Linked DNA regions of Homo sapiens: regions 2, 3 and 4 are each linked to region 1. Evidence: promoter capture Hi-C in 16 types of primary human blood cells and fetal thymus (Javierre and others, 2016). All regions are on one chromosome and are shown on one strand. The core of a region is centred on a gene start or on the middle of the fragment in contact, and the rest is flanking DNA. Distances in the headings are between cores, read along the strand shown.

Evidence for each region. The method cuts DNA at HindIII sites, captures the fragments that hold promoters and counts their contacts. A CHiCAGO score of 5 or more calls a contact.
Region 2: a fragment that was not itself captured here is called in contact with the fragment with the promoter of TRDMT1 in region 1 in 7 of 17 cell types (activated CD4 T cells, total CD8 T cells, naive CD8 T cells and 4 more); the score reaches 16.3 in activated CD4 T cells.
Region 3: a fragment that was not itself captured here is called in contact with the fragment with the promoter of TRDMT1 in region 1 in 11 of 17 cell types (activated CD4 T cells, total CD8 T cells, naive CD8 T cells and 8 more); the score reaches 14.5 in activated CD4 T cells.
Region 4: a contact is called between a fragment that was not itself captured here and the fragment with the promoter of TRDMT1 in region 1, in 10 of 17 cell types (activated CD4 T cells, naive CD8 T cells, M2 macrophages and 7 more). The highest score is 15.5, in activated CD4 T cells.

What each region holds. Positions count from the first base shown.
Region 1 is chr10:17,200,256-17,203,181 of GRCh38, forward strand. It overlaps TRDMT1 (tRNA aspartic acid methyltransferase 1), which reads right to left and starts at 1,417. Exons shown (of 11, transcript NM_004412.7): 1 at 1,316-1,417. The coding sequence starts at 1,379. RefSeq lists a silencer at 1,055-1,114. The HindIII fragment of the contact is 5,194 bases long and covers 806-2,926 here.
Region 2 is chr10:16,796,435-16,799,360 of GRCh38, forward strand. The region is part of intron 2 of RSU1 (Ras suppressor protein 1); the gene reads right to left. Among named protein-coding and RNA genes, the nearest start is that of RSU1, 20 kb to the right of the region's middle. The HindIII fragment of the contact is 2,324 bases long and covers 250-2,573 here.
Region 3 is chr10:16,869,706-16,872,631 of GRCh38, forward strand. It overlaps CUBN (cubilin), which reads right to left. Exons shown (of 67, transcript NM_001081.4): 59 at 1-148. Among named protein-coding and RNA genes, the nearest start is that of RSU1, 54 kb to the left of the region's middle. The HindIII fragment of the contact is 1,153 bases long and covers 952-2,104 here.
Region 4 is chr10:16,924,977-16,927,902 of GRCh38, forward strand. CUBN (cubilin) reads right to left here. Exons shown (of 67, transcript NM_001081.4): 42 at 608-798; 43 at 265-448. Among named protein-coding and RNA genes, the nearest start is that of RSU1, 110 kb to the left of the region's middle. The HindIII fragment of the contact is 5,679 bases long and covers 1-2,926 here.

The DNA of each region.
Region 1 (2,926 bases), core at 167-2,666:
CTTATGATAAAGTACTAAGCAATTCATTAAGGAGTTTCAAGATATGGGAAAACGCGGACATTATATCACTTTAGAGAATTAACAAAGAGTAAATAGTACTAGAGTTTTGCTTTGATGCTGCTAAGTTTTAAAATGAGAAATAAAGATAGCCGGCAAACAAGTACTAAAAACTTAATGATCATTAACCTAGTCTAGAATTGAAACTCAATAAATCTGCTCAAAAAACTTATACGCTAAACCCATTAAATATTGTCTGTATCTTACAGTTACTCTTGTTACTCTTGGTCCTAAATAAGGAAGCAGGGAAGTTTCAGTTCGGTGGTTGTCTTAGTAATTTAAGAATAAACATGCACCTTCAAAGCCTGTTTGTCATTCTGTATCCCCAGCTCCTAGCACAAAATCTGGCACAGAATAGGAGCTCAATAAATAATTTTGAGTGAATATCACCAAAAGTAAAACTTTCAGTTCCAACTCAGCATGAAAGAAATCAAAAACCTCAAAATCAAAGACGTGCATAAAAGTAATAGTTTGCTTGATAATATCTCGTGATGTCGTTTTAAAGTAATAGTGATAATAATGTATAATATTTGGAGTGGTTACAATGTATCAGGCACTAACAAGCACTTGACAGACTTTAATCCTTATAATAATCATTCTCTTTTAAAACCAGGAAACAGGTTCATCACTGTTCACGAAGTAGCCCAACGTCACACTGCCACCAAGCTGGAACTCAGTTCTCTGGCATCTAAACGCAGAACTACAGAAGACACGTTTCTTTCCAACGATCAGACGTCCAAGTTCTTCAAGCTTCCTCTACCATCCTATTTAGCATTCGCAAACTTCTACCTTGAATTGTAGCTATTATCCCTTCCAAGATCCATCTCTCACCAGGGGAGCCCCTGACACTCCCTCCCTCCCCAGCTGGGAAGCCCCCCAGGATGAAGGACCGAGTCTCCATGCTTCTCGGTGGCTGCACACTTAGAATGGGGGCTTGGCACCAGGCGAGGGTCTCGCCCCTTTGATACCCTTTGAGGTTGATTTACTGCCTTGCGAATCCCGACTCCCAACTGGGCCCTTTGAGGCGCCATGTGCGGCCCCTCGAGCCAGACTCGGCGCCAGGAGAAGGGAGTCAGCGTCTGGAGGGGTGGACACGGCGGCGCGCAGGAGCTGTTTCCAGGACAACCGAGGGCCGCCCCACAGTGTCCGCCCCACAGTGTCCGCCCCTTGCGTCTCGCCGCTCCGCCCCTTCCCGGCGCGGGTGCTCCAACCAGCCCCCGTGAGCGAATAGAGAGAGGGGTGCTAGATGGACTCTCACCTCTCAGCGCGTGGTGCATGCCGCCCACGCCGCTGTATAGCTCCAGCACCCGCAGGGGCTCCATCCCCGCGCCTCAGCCGCCGCAGCCCCGGAGCTAGGCCTGCCGGTCCGTCGCTCCTCCTCCCTCCATCGCGCCGCTCCCTCAGCCTCTGGTTCCGCGGCGTTTCAGTTCCCCCGTCTCCTACCGCTCCAGGCTCAGGGCTTCAGAGGGCCTCGCGGCCTGGGGATTGGCAAGGGTCTAGAGGGGAACAAAGGACGGAAAACAATAAGGCTTCCCGAATGAATGGCAGCCACTCTGTAGCCTGATTTACGCTCCATTTCCTTCTTTGGTGTCAGGGGCCTTGATTGGAAAAGAAATCCAGAGTTCAGTAAAGGGGAGAAAACTGCCTTGGTTTCCAAGTGAATTAACACTGGTTAGAAGCCAGAAAAAAATCATTTTTCAGACAAGCTGCTTTTCTGTCACTTAGAAGCCTGAACATTCAAACATTCTTTCCACAGTGTGCCTTGTTTCCTGCCTGCCCTGGGTCAATAGAGAGAAATTAGACCAGCCTCTCCCCTAGAGAAGATTCCAGAATTATAAGTAAGGACACAAGTCCACTCGCAGCAGAGAAAGCCCTGTGTGCGTGCTGATAATACAGAGGATGTTTGTTGTGTCTATTAGTGGGGTTAATTATGTTTTAGCTTGGAAATTACACCTACATAGAATACACAGTGAATATCATGTAGGATTATTTATGGGTCTTTAAGTGCTATGGCCTTGATTCCTCAGGATGATCCAGTAACCAACTGTTAGAGGCTCATGTTGACGAAAAAAGCCAAACTCCGTAAAATGTTTGAAGAGGTTTATTCTGAGCACAAGGTGAGGACCGTGACCCATGACACAACCCCACAGGGTCCTGACAACATGTACCCAAGGTGGTTGGGCTACAGCTTGGGATTATATGGTTTTAGGGAGACATAAGGACATTAACTGGTATATGGAAGGTGTACTTAGTTTGGTCCATAAAGATGGGACAACTCAAAAAGGGGAAGGATTCCAGGTTACAGGTGGATTCAAAGATTTTCTGATTGGCAGTTGGTTGAAAGAGTTAAGTTGTGACCTAAAGACCTGGAATCAATAGAAAGGAATGTGTCTGGGTTAAGATAAGGTGGAGACCAAGGTTCTTATTATGTAGACGAAGTCTCATACGTAACAGGCTTCAGAGAGAATAATTGGCAAATGTCTCTTATCATGTGTAAAAAGATGCCAGACTCTTAGTTAAATATCTCTTGGATCAGGAAAAGACCTGGAAAGGGAAAGGGAGTCTCTATAGAATGTAGATTTTCCCCACAAGAGATGGCTGTGTAGGGCCATTTCAAAAAGTGTCAAAGAAATTTATTTTAGGGTAAAATGCTTTGATTTAGGGCCTGCTATCTTTCATGTGATGCTATACTAGAGTCATGTTGGAATTTTGGTATCTTATTGCTAAGAAGAGTCTGTTATGTCGGTATGAAGATCTCTTGTTTTAATAATAATACTGGTCAGTTGTGCCTGAACTCCAAAGAGAGGAAAGTATAATGAGGCATGTCTGACTTCCCTTTCCCAGCATGGCCTGAACTAGTTTTTCAAGT
Region 2 (2,926 bases), core at 162-2,661, 400 kb before region 1:
GCAAACAAATCTGCCATCAATGACACCCACAAACCCTCACCCTCTTGTTCTTTCCTCACCCCAAAGGCCCATTAGACTCTTCACCCCTAAATCCCCCTCTTATCAGAGCTCCCACAATGGCAGCTTCAAAACAGACTATGCCACTGCTCAACAAGTATGAAATTGTCAAACTGTTCATCACAATGATCATTTTTTGAGTACCTGGTCTGCATCAGATACTACATACACATTATCCTTCATTTGAGGAGAAGCTTATTTTTCCCACTGTACCAAGGAGGAAAAAGTGTAGGTGCAGGAAACGTGGAGGCAGCATGGCAGATTTTAGGAATCCTGAAACCCTACATCAAAATAGAGAAACTAGGCAGCAAGAAAAAATTCAAGGACACAATTTACAACAAAACTAGGTTATAAAGTGTCCCCACAAAAAACTCCAAAATACAAGTAGATGAGGACAAGCTACCAGTAACCCAAAGATTGGCATGATATCAGCATGCATGTGACGAAAGCAGAGAGAACCCAAGGGGCAACTAACAAACTTGACAACTGAGAACCCCCGAATAGCTAAACAAATTCACCAGAAAGCCCAGAAGACCTCTGTGAGAATAGCAGCTGAAATTAGGAAGGGTTTGCCCATTCCAACAGCAGGGCCTGCAGTAGGGTCTGATGGATTAGGACAAGTCTAGGCCCTGTGACCTGGAAACTGACCACCTAGGGCTCCCTTGCAGGACAGGGCCTAGAATCAAAGCTGGATAAGACAGAAATAATAGAGACCAATGATAGAGGCACACTGCCTATAGGGTAGCCCTACTCCACAAGGAGCAGTAAGTAAAAATAAAACGCTTTTAAAAAGAGAGAGAAAAAGAGACCAAGGATAGAGAAGATCCAGATAAAAGTGGGCAGAAGGACTGAACCAAGTCATCTGAAAGCAAGCCACTGTATTTCTGAAAACTACATAAAATCAACCAGAGGACAGAGCTCTGTAAAGTTAGAAAAGCTATCTAGAACTAAGCCTTCCTCTGAAAGTTTAGGAAAATTAATTTCATTTAAAAATGAGCAACATAAAAAATATTGGGAGCAAATCCCATAACGTTATTATGGAATAAAAGGAAAAAGAAAGTGTAGAAGAACATCATTGACCATGAAAACTCACTAACCAAAAAGATGCCCAGAACACAGGGCAAAACTATAATTGACTATTTCAAAACAAGGTAAAAAGCCATTACAACAATGATACATGACACAAAACAGAAACATAAATCTGATTTCCAAAAATTCAGCAATAAAGGGACAAAACTTAAGAAAAAAATTAGAAACAAAAAAAATTATTTCAGAAATGAAAGCTAAATTCAAAGACATATAAGAGCAAATAAACACAATACGTAATACTTTACAAGAAACAGAAGTTAAAGTGGGGATTTCTTCTTTTTTTTTTTTTTTTTTTTTTTGAGATGGAATCTCTCTCTGTTGCCCAGACTGGAGTGGAGCGGGGCAATCTCGGCTCACTGTAACCTCCGCCTCTCGGGTTCAAGGGATTCTCCTGCCTCAGCCTCCAGAGTAGCTGGGATTATAGGTGCCCACCACCACGCCCGGCTAATTCTTGTATTTTTAGTAGCGACGGGGTTTTACCATGTTGGCCAGGCTGGTCTCGAACTCCTGACCTCACCTGATATGCCTGCCTCGGCCTCCCAAAGTGCTGGGATTATAGGCATGAGGGATTTCTTTTAAAACAAAGAAATGAAGCAAGAACAGGGATCTGGGCAAAAGTGACAAATATTAAAGATGGGCAAAAAAATCAACATACAGACCCCAGAAAACCATAAAGAACATAAGGAAAGAGCTCATAGACTAAAAATCACAATAAAAATACTTTCTTGAAATAAAAGGTATTTAAAAGTTCTGATATGGTTAGGCTGTGTTCCCACCCAAATCTCATCTTGAACTGTAATCCTCATAATCTTCGTATGTCAAGGGAGAGACCGGGTGGAGATAACTGAATCATGGGGGTGGTTTCCCCCATACTGTTCCCCCGATAGTGAGTTCTCATGAGATCTGATGGTTTTATAAGGGGCTCTTCCCCCTTCGCTCAGCACTTCTCCATCCTACTGCCTTGTGAAAAAGGCACCTTGCTTTCCCTTCCGCCATGATTGTAAGTTTCCTGAGGTCTCCCCAACTATGCTGAATGGTGAGTCAATTAAACCTCTTTCCTTCATAAATTACCCATCTTGAGCCGTTCTTTGTAGCAGTATGAAAACAGACTAATACAATTTTCAAACTTTAAAGAGCATACTACATACCTGGGAAATAATCAGACCAGAATGACCTACGCCCTACACCAAGTCATACTCCAGTAAAATTACAGGAAATAAAATTGTATCACCAGACTTTCAAACAATGCTTTATGCCAGAAGAAATAGAGTAACACATCGACAACACTCCAGAAAAGAAACTGTCGAGTCTCTATACCTGTAAAATTGACTTTCATGTAAAAAGAACACAAATTTTTATGTACTATCCACAGAAAAAACTCTGGGATTATTCTCTTGATGCCTTTCTGAGGAATATTCCAGAGTATAAGCTTCAGACAATCAAAATAACTAGAGATACATTGTCCTAAGGACTCCTAATGCGCATAAAAGATAGGGGTGCCTGTAGAACTAAGACTACGTGAGGGCTAAAGGAGAGACTGTATCATAGGAAATGGCTATATGTGCTGAAAATCTAGATACAGTTCAAATTCTAAAAAGCAGGGAGCCGTATTTCCAAAATTAATACCAGATTAGAGATGTATCGGGTTTCTGGTTAGCAAATAGAGATTCTGGACGTTGTCACTACCATACTCACAGTAAGAAGAAAGCTGAGCAAACAGAAAACAAACAACTCTTCCATAGATTCATTAGAAAACTCAGGTCACAGGGCAAACCACCAT
Region 3 (2,926 bases), core at 278-2,777, 330 kb before region 1:
CATACTATTATTGCTGCTCTTCACATTTGGTGGGCGCTTGGAACCGCAGAATTTGCCAAGAAGGGGATCGCTGGTATTGGCACCATCGTAAATTGCCAGGTAGTCATGGGAGCAGGAGGTGGAGGGAACCACATCAAAATCACTGAACCTGTGAAATGTACCTTGTTAATACTGATGTTTCCATTTGGACTTCTATTAAATTGTAGCTTTAGCTCTTGCAAAAAAAATGACAAGGAAAAAACTACCAGTAGAGCATTCAAAACTCACTTGATATGAAATATTAGAAATCAAACAGTACTTTACTGATCAGTTCAAAAGTTTAGCCAAATTTGTTTTTAGTAATTACAATACAACAAAAACTGTGACAGCAGCTGGGGATGTCAAAGTGAGTAAGATACAGTCTTACTTTTCAAGGAATTCACAGTCTAGGGCATATTAAAGTCCATCTGAGAACAACTTTTGACAAGTTGAACTGATATTTACTATCCCAGCAATACTTTAGTTTTTTAGGTCTCATTAAAAATACCATATTTACTCTTCCCTTGTTATTTTATGAGATGAAGTAGAACTTATGGGAAGCATGTTAATATAATAGAAGAAATGCTGCTTTTAGAATCACAGCTCCATTCTCCTCACAGTCTCATTTTCCTCTTTTAAAATGAAGTTTATGTTAAGGTCAGGTGAAGAACAGGAAATTTACATTTAAGACCTCTGTGGTGGTCACTGACACTTCTGCACATGGTCCCAGCTCTCTGCCTCCCCAGCACTGGTAGGATTGCCCTAGGGGCACACTTTGAGGCTTGACATGGCTGCTAGGAGTTGCTTTGACCACAGAAATGTAAGCAGAAGGGATACATATTACTTTACGGAAGAAGCTTTACAAATGACTACTTGCTTTGCCACACTGCCTTCCCACTGCAGTGATGATCATGGAAGCAAATGTAAAAACGAAGCTTCCATCAGCCTGGGTTGTTGGATGACCACGATGAGCAGAGCTTCCATGCCAGGCCACACTGAACATGCTCATTACAATGAGAAATCAACTTGTTGAGTTAAGCTGCTGTGAGGTGGAGTTGTTTGTTACTATGTGCATAACCTATCCTGACAGATGCATCCCTAACTTTTCTCTGTCTTATACAGTGTTTAATTCAGGTCTTATTCTTTGTCATTTCAAATAACGATTTCTAGAGTTCCTGAACAAGCAAGGCTTCTTACATGGATTTACTTTAGAGTTTTGTGGTGGGTTTATTATAGCTTATTTTTAAAACTTGTTTAAAAAAATAATATTTGATATCCTGTCCTCATTTTTATAGGTTCTTCTGCTTTTTCTTTTTTTTTTTGAGACAGAGTCTCACTCTGTTGCACAGGCTGGAGTGCAGTGGCACAATCTCAGCTCACTGCAACCTCTGCCTCCCTGGTTCAAGTGATTCTCTTGCCTCACCCTCCCGAGTAGCTGGGATTACAGGTGTCCACCACCATGCCTGGCTATTTTTTTTAATTACATGTATATTTTTTAGTAGAGATGAGGTTTCTGCCATGTTGGCCAGGCTGGTCTTGAACTTCTGACCTCAGGTGACCTGCCTGCCTCAGCCTCCCTGTGCTGGGATTACAGGCATGGGACACCATGCCCAGCCTGCATTTTCAATTTATTTTGGCAGTAGCTCTAATAAACAATCCATAATATGGAATAATTTTGAAAATATAGACTAAATAATATATATTTATATATAAAATATATAATAAATGCTTCCTTTCAACAGCCTTGAGAAAAAAAATTGTTGGTTTTTTTTCTAAAAGGTTTTGGTTGGTTGAAGGTTTTCAGACTGATGAGGAACAAGATGAAAACCGTATTGATTTTCTTTTACCACATTTAACATTTAATGTTATTGTAAAAGATCAGGGAAGAACAATAGCTAGATAATTTCCAACAACACTGTATTCATTTTAATTCTCTACAGACAACACATTTATTTTTCACAAAAAGAATCCACAAAGAGAGATAAAATCTGAGTTTCTAAGAGGACTTAAATCTGCTTTGGCTTTTTATTTTACATCATTTTCCCAGGAGAGCACAGAAGAGATCTGAAAAGCCCATTGACAGAAAAGCTTGTGTAACCACAATCTTTTGAGAGCCTTTTATTAATGTCTGCATCTTCTACCACACCTAGAATCTTATCTGTTTCCTAGAATGTAGGCTCTTAGTGCGCAATAAATAATTTTCTAAACCTGCAGATGTAGGCTGGGTGTGGTGGCTCACACCTGCAATCCCAGCACTTTGGGAGGCCGAGGCAGGTGGACCACTTGAGGTCAGGGATTCAAGACCAGCCTGGCCAACATGGCAAAACTCCATCTCTACTAAATATATATATATATACAAAAGAAAAAATTACCCAGGCTGGTGGCACACACCTGTAGTCCCAGCTACTCAGGAGGCTAAGGTGGGAGAATCGCTTGAACCCAGCAGGTGGAGGTTGCAGTGAGCTGAGATCACGCCACTGCACTCCAGCCTGGGCGACAGAGTGAGAGCTAGTCTCAAATAAATAAATAAGTAAAATAAAATAAACATGCAGATGTAAATTTCATTATGGTGAGCTCCAGGATCCAGGCTGAAAACTGAAAAAATACATTTAGATTGTATACATACATATATATATAGATAGATAGACAGATAAAGAGAGAGAGAATATATAACATACCTCTATGAGTTGGTATGTATACCATGGTTGGAATGTTTGTGTTCCCCTAAATTCATATGTTCCCTAAGCTAATGGTATAGGAAGTGGGGCCTATGGGAGGTGATTAGGTCATGGGGGAGGACCCCTCACAAATGGGATTAGTGTTTTATAAGAGGCCCTTCCAGCTCATGAAGACACAGCAAGAAGGTACCTTCTATAAGCCAGAAAACAGGAGCTCACCAGACAACGAA
Region 4 (2,926 bases), core at 230-2,729, 280 kb before region 1:
GGAAAATTTCACTTTGGTCACTAATTAGGTATGTGGCCTTGGAAAAGTCCAAGCCTCATTTTATTTATCTTTAAAATGGAAATAATGATACTTTACTTGAAAAGTAGTCACGATGAGATATTGAATGTATCAAATATAATAAGTACTTGAGAGTAGGCATTCTTATTAATTCTATTACTGTTGGTTCAGAAAAGAAAATTTTATATCAAAGAAGATCAAGCAATTGCAGGAAAAGCAGATATAATTCTCAGTGAAAATACTTACCTAAACTCTTTGCCTCATATTTGATTTTAAATCCTTGCCCTTCATTACTGTGATCAGAAATAAACTGAACAAACATTTGATTATCCGAGGTGAACAGAGTTGATGAAGCATGACTGCCACAAAAATGACCATTTCCTCCAGGGGGTCCCAAGGGTGGAGAACAGATATCAGGACCATTTCTTAGCTGGAAAGACAAATTAAAATTTCATCAACTCCTTTACATTGCAAAAGAAGGAGTACGCAATTCTTATCCATTTATGTCCCAGGAGAGAAAAATTATCATTTTGTTTTCTGAATGAAGTCTATGGAAAATGTAATTAGAAAGGGTAGCAGCAAGACCTACCACCAAGTAATCCCCCTGGTTGCAAGAAGAATCTCCATTTGGAATCTGGAAAGGCTGTTCAAAATGGACAGCAATGGTCAGGCCACTTTGGACCAGGACGTGCCAAGAACAGTTGAGGTTGGATGGGTAAGTCTCTGGATACTTGGGGGACGTGATGATCCCTCTGTCTGCATGCAAATATCCACCGCAGCCTTCCCACAAAGAAACAAAGGTCGGTTATTTAAATAGCATTGGCAACTGGATTTTTATGCTTTCTTAGTTTTCTTGGGGGGTTTTCAAAGTGGAGGCAATAAAAATGCTTGAAAATAAAGCCAGAGTGCAGGAAATGATTATCATAACAAGCATGTATTGAGCACATGCTATTGGCTACTCAGTTTGTGGTGGTCATTGAGATCTGGGATACAGAGGTAAGTAAACAAGACAAATTACCTGCTTTCATAAAGATTTCTTTATAGATGGGGAAGACATACAATAAACAAATACATGATATGTGAGATGGTGATAAATTCTATAAAGAAAAATGGATGAGAGGAGGGAGAAGGGTACTTTATTGTTAGAGTTAAGTTAGAAAAGCCACGTCATTGGAGTAACATCTTAGCAGAGACATGAATGAAATGAAGGATCAAGCCAGATAGTTATGGGGGAGAAAACATTCCAGTTCAGAAAACAGTGTAAAGGCTTGATGTGTTAGAGGTACATCATGGAAGTCAGAATGGATGAGGCAGAATGAGAGATTCCAAAGGTAGCATGGCTAGGTCATGCAGGAAACTGAAAAGACTTATTCTGAATAAGAAGAGGAAGATGTTGAAGGGTTTTGGGCATCAGAATGGCATGATCTCACTTAAGTTTGAAAATGTCACTCTATGTGCAGTCCTTAGACTGTAAGGGGTGGAGGACAGGGAAGGACAGGAGCAGAGTGTCCAATAAGGAGGGGACCGCCTGAGGCCAAGGAGAGATGATAGGTGCACGGGCTAGGCTGGTAGCAACAGAAATGGAGAGGCGTGGTTGGAATCTAGATACATTGTGAGGGTAGAGCCAGTGTGATTTGTTGATGGTTAAGTGTGAGACAAACAGAAAAGTCAAAAATAACATCAAGATTTTGACTTAAATAATGAGAAAAATGTACTTTCCATTTGCTGAGATTATGAGGAGTGTAGAATTGGGGGGTGGTGGCATGGAAAAGGGTGGGAATAAAGTGTTCAACTTTCAAAGGTGAAATTTTTTTTTCTATCTATCTATCTATCTATCTATCTATCTATCTAGTCTAATTGGGATACAAGTGGTTTTTCGTTACATGGATGAATTGCATACTGGTGAAGTCTATATTTTAGTGCACTGGTTCCCTGACTAGTATACATTACACCTAATATGTAGTTTTTTATCCCTCATACCCCACCCATCCTCCCCACTTCTGAGTCTCCAAAGTCCATTATACCACTCACAGGTTAAATTTGAAATACATTCTAGACCGGGAGCTGCCAAGTATGTATATATACATAGACACACACACATATTTATATATATTATATACATATATAAACACACATATTAATTCCAATGGTTCCACCCTTACTATATACATACATGTGTATACATGTATGTATGTATAATGAGTTGCGATACATAGTAATATATACATGAGAGTGAGAGGGCAGGAGATAAAGGAAGAGGATAAAAGGAGGAGGCATTAATTCTCCAGTTGTCAGGGACCAGAAGCTCATCAGTAAGGGCAGACATCTCACACAGCTAGTTAAATTGTAGAGGTGAAAATGTATCTTAGGTCTAGTTCCAAAGCCCATGCTCTTAAGCCACTATGCAGCCTGCCTCCCTTGAGCGTGAGGAACACAACTTATCTTCAGTTGCTCCCTACTTTATAAAAGGTATATATAAGCATGGAGGAAATATTAGATTAATTTTTAATGTTAGATTGAGAATCTACTTTAAAATTATGTTTTTTGATCAAAACATGAGAGTCTTTCACTCTTCCTTGGACTACTTTATCACCTTTCAGTTAGTTTGGATTTAAGGCTGTTACTGGACTTCACATGTCAAGTTTGAAAAGTCTCAATCATACTGTGCATGATGGTATCCCATATATGGTGCCCGCTTTTGACTCATCAAATTCATATTTCAAGAGCAACAAACTCTTCCTGCCAACCCTCAGATGGCTGACTTCAACCAAGTAATTTATGAGAATAAATGATGACGTTTTGCTCCTTCGATGAGTTATGGATATGAGCTGTGCTCTATCTAGTTCCAGCCCTCAGCTAGGCTGAAAAATTGCTTTAAAGCTCTCTCTCATGCATTCCCTGGACACAC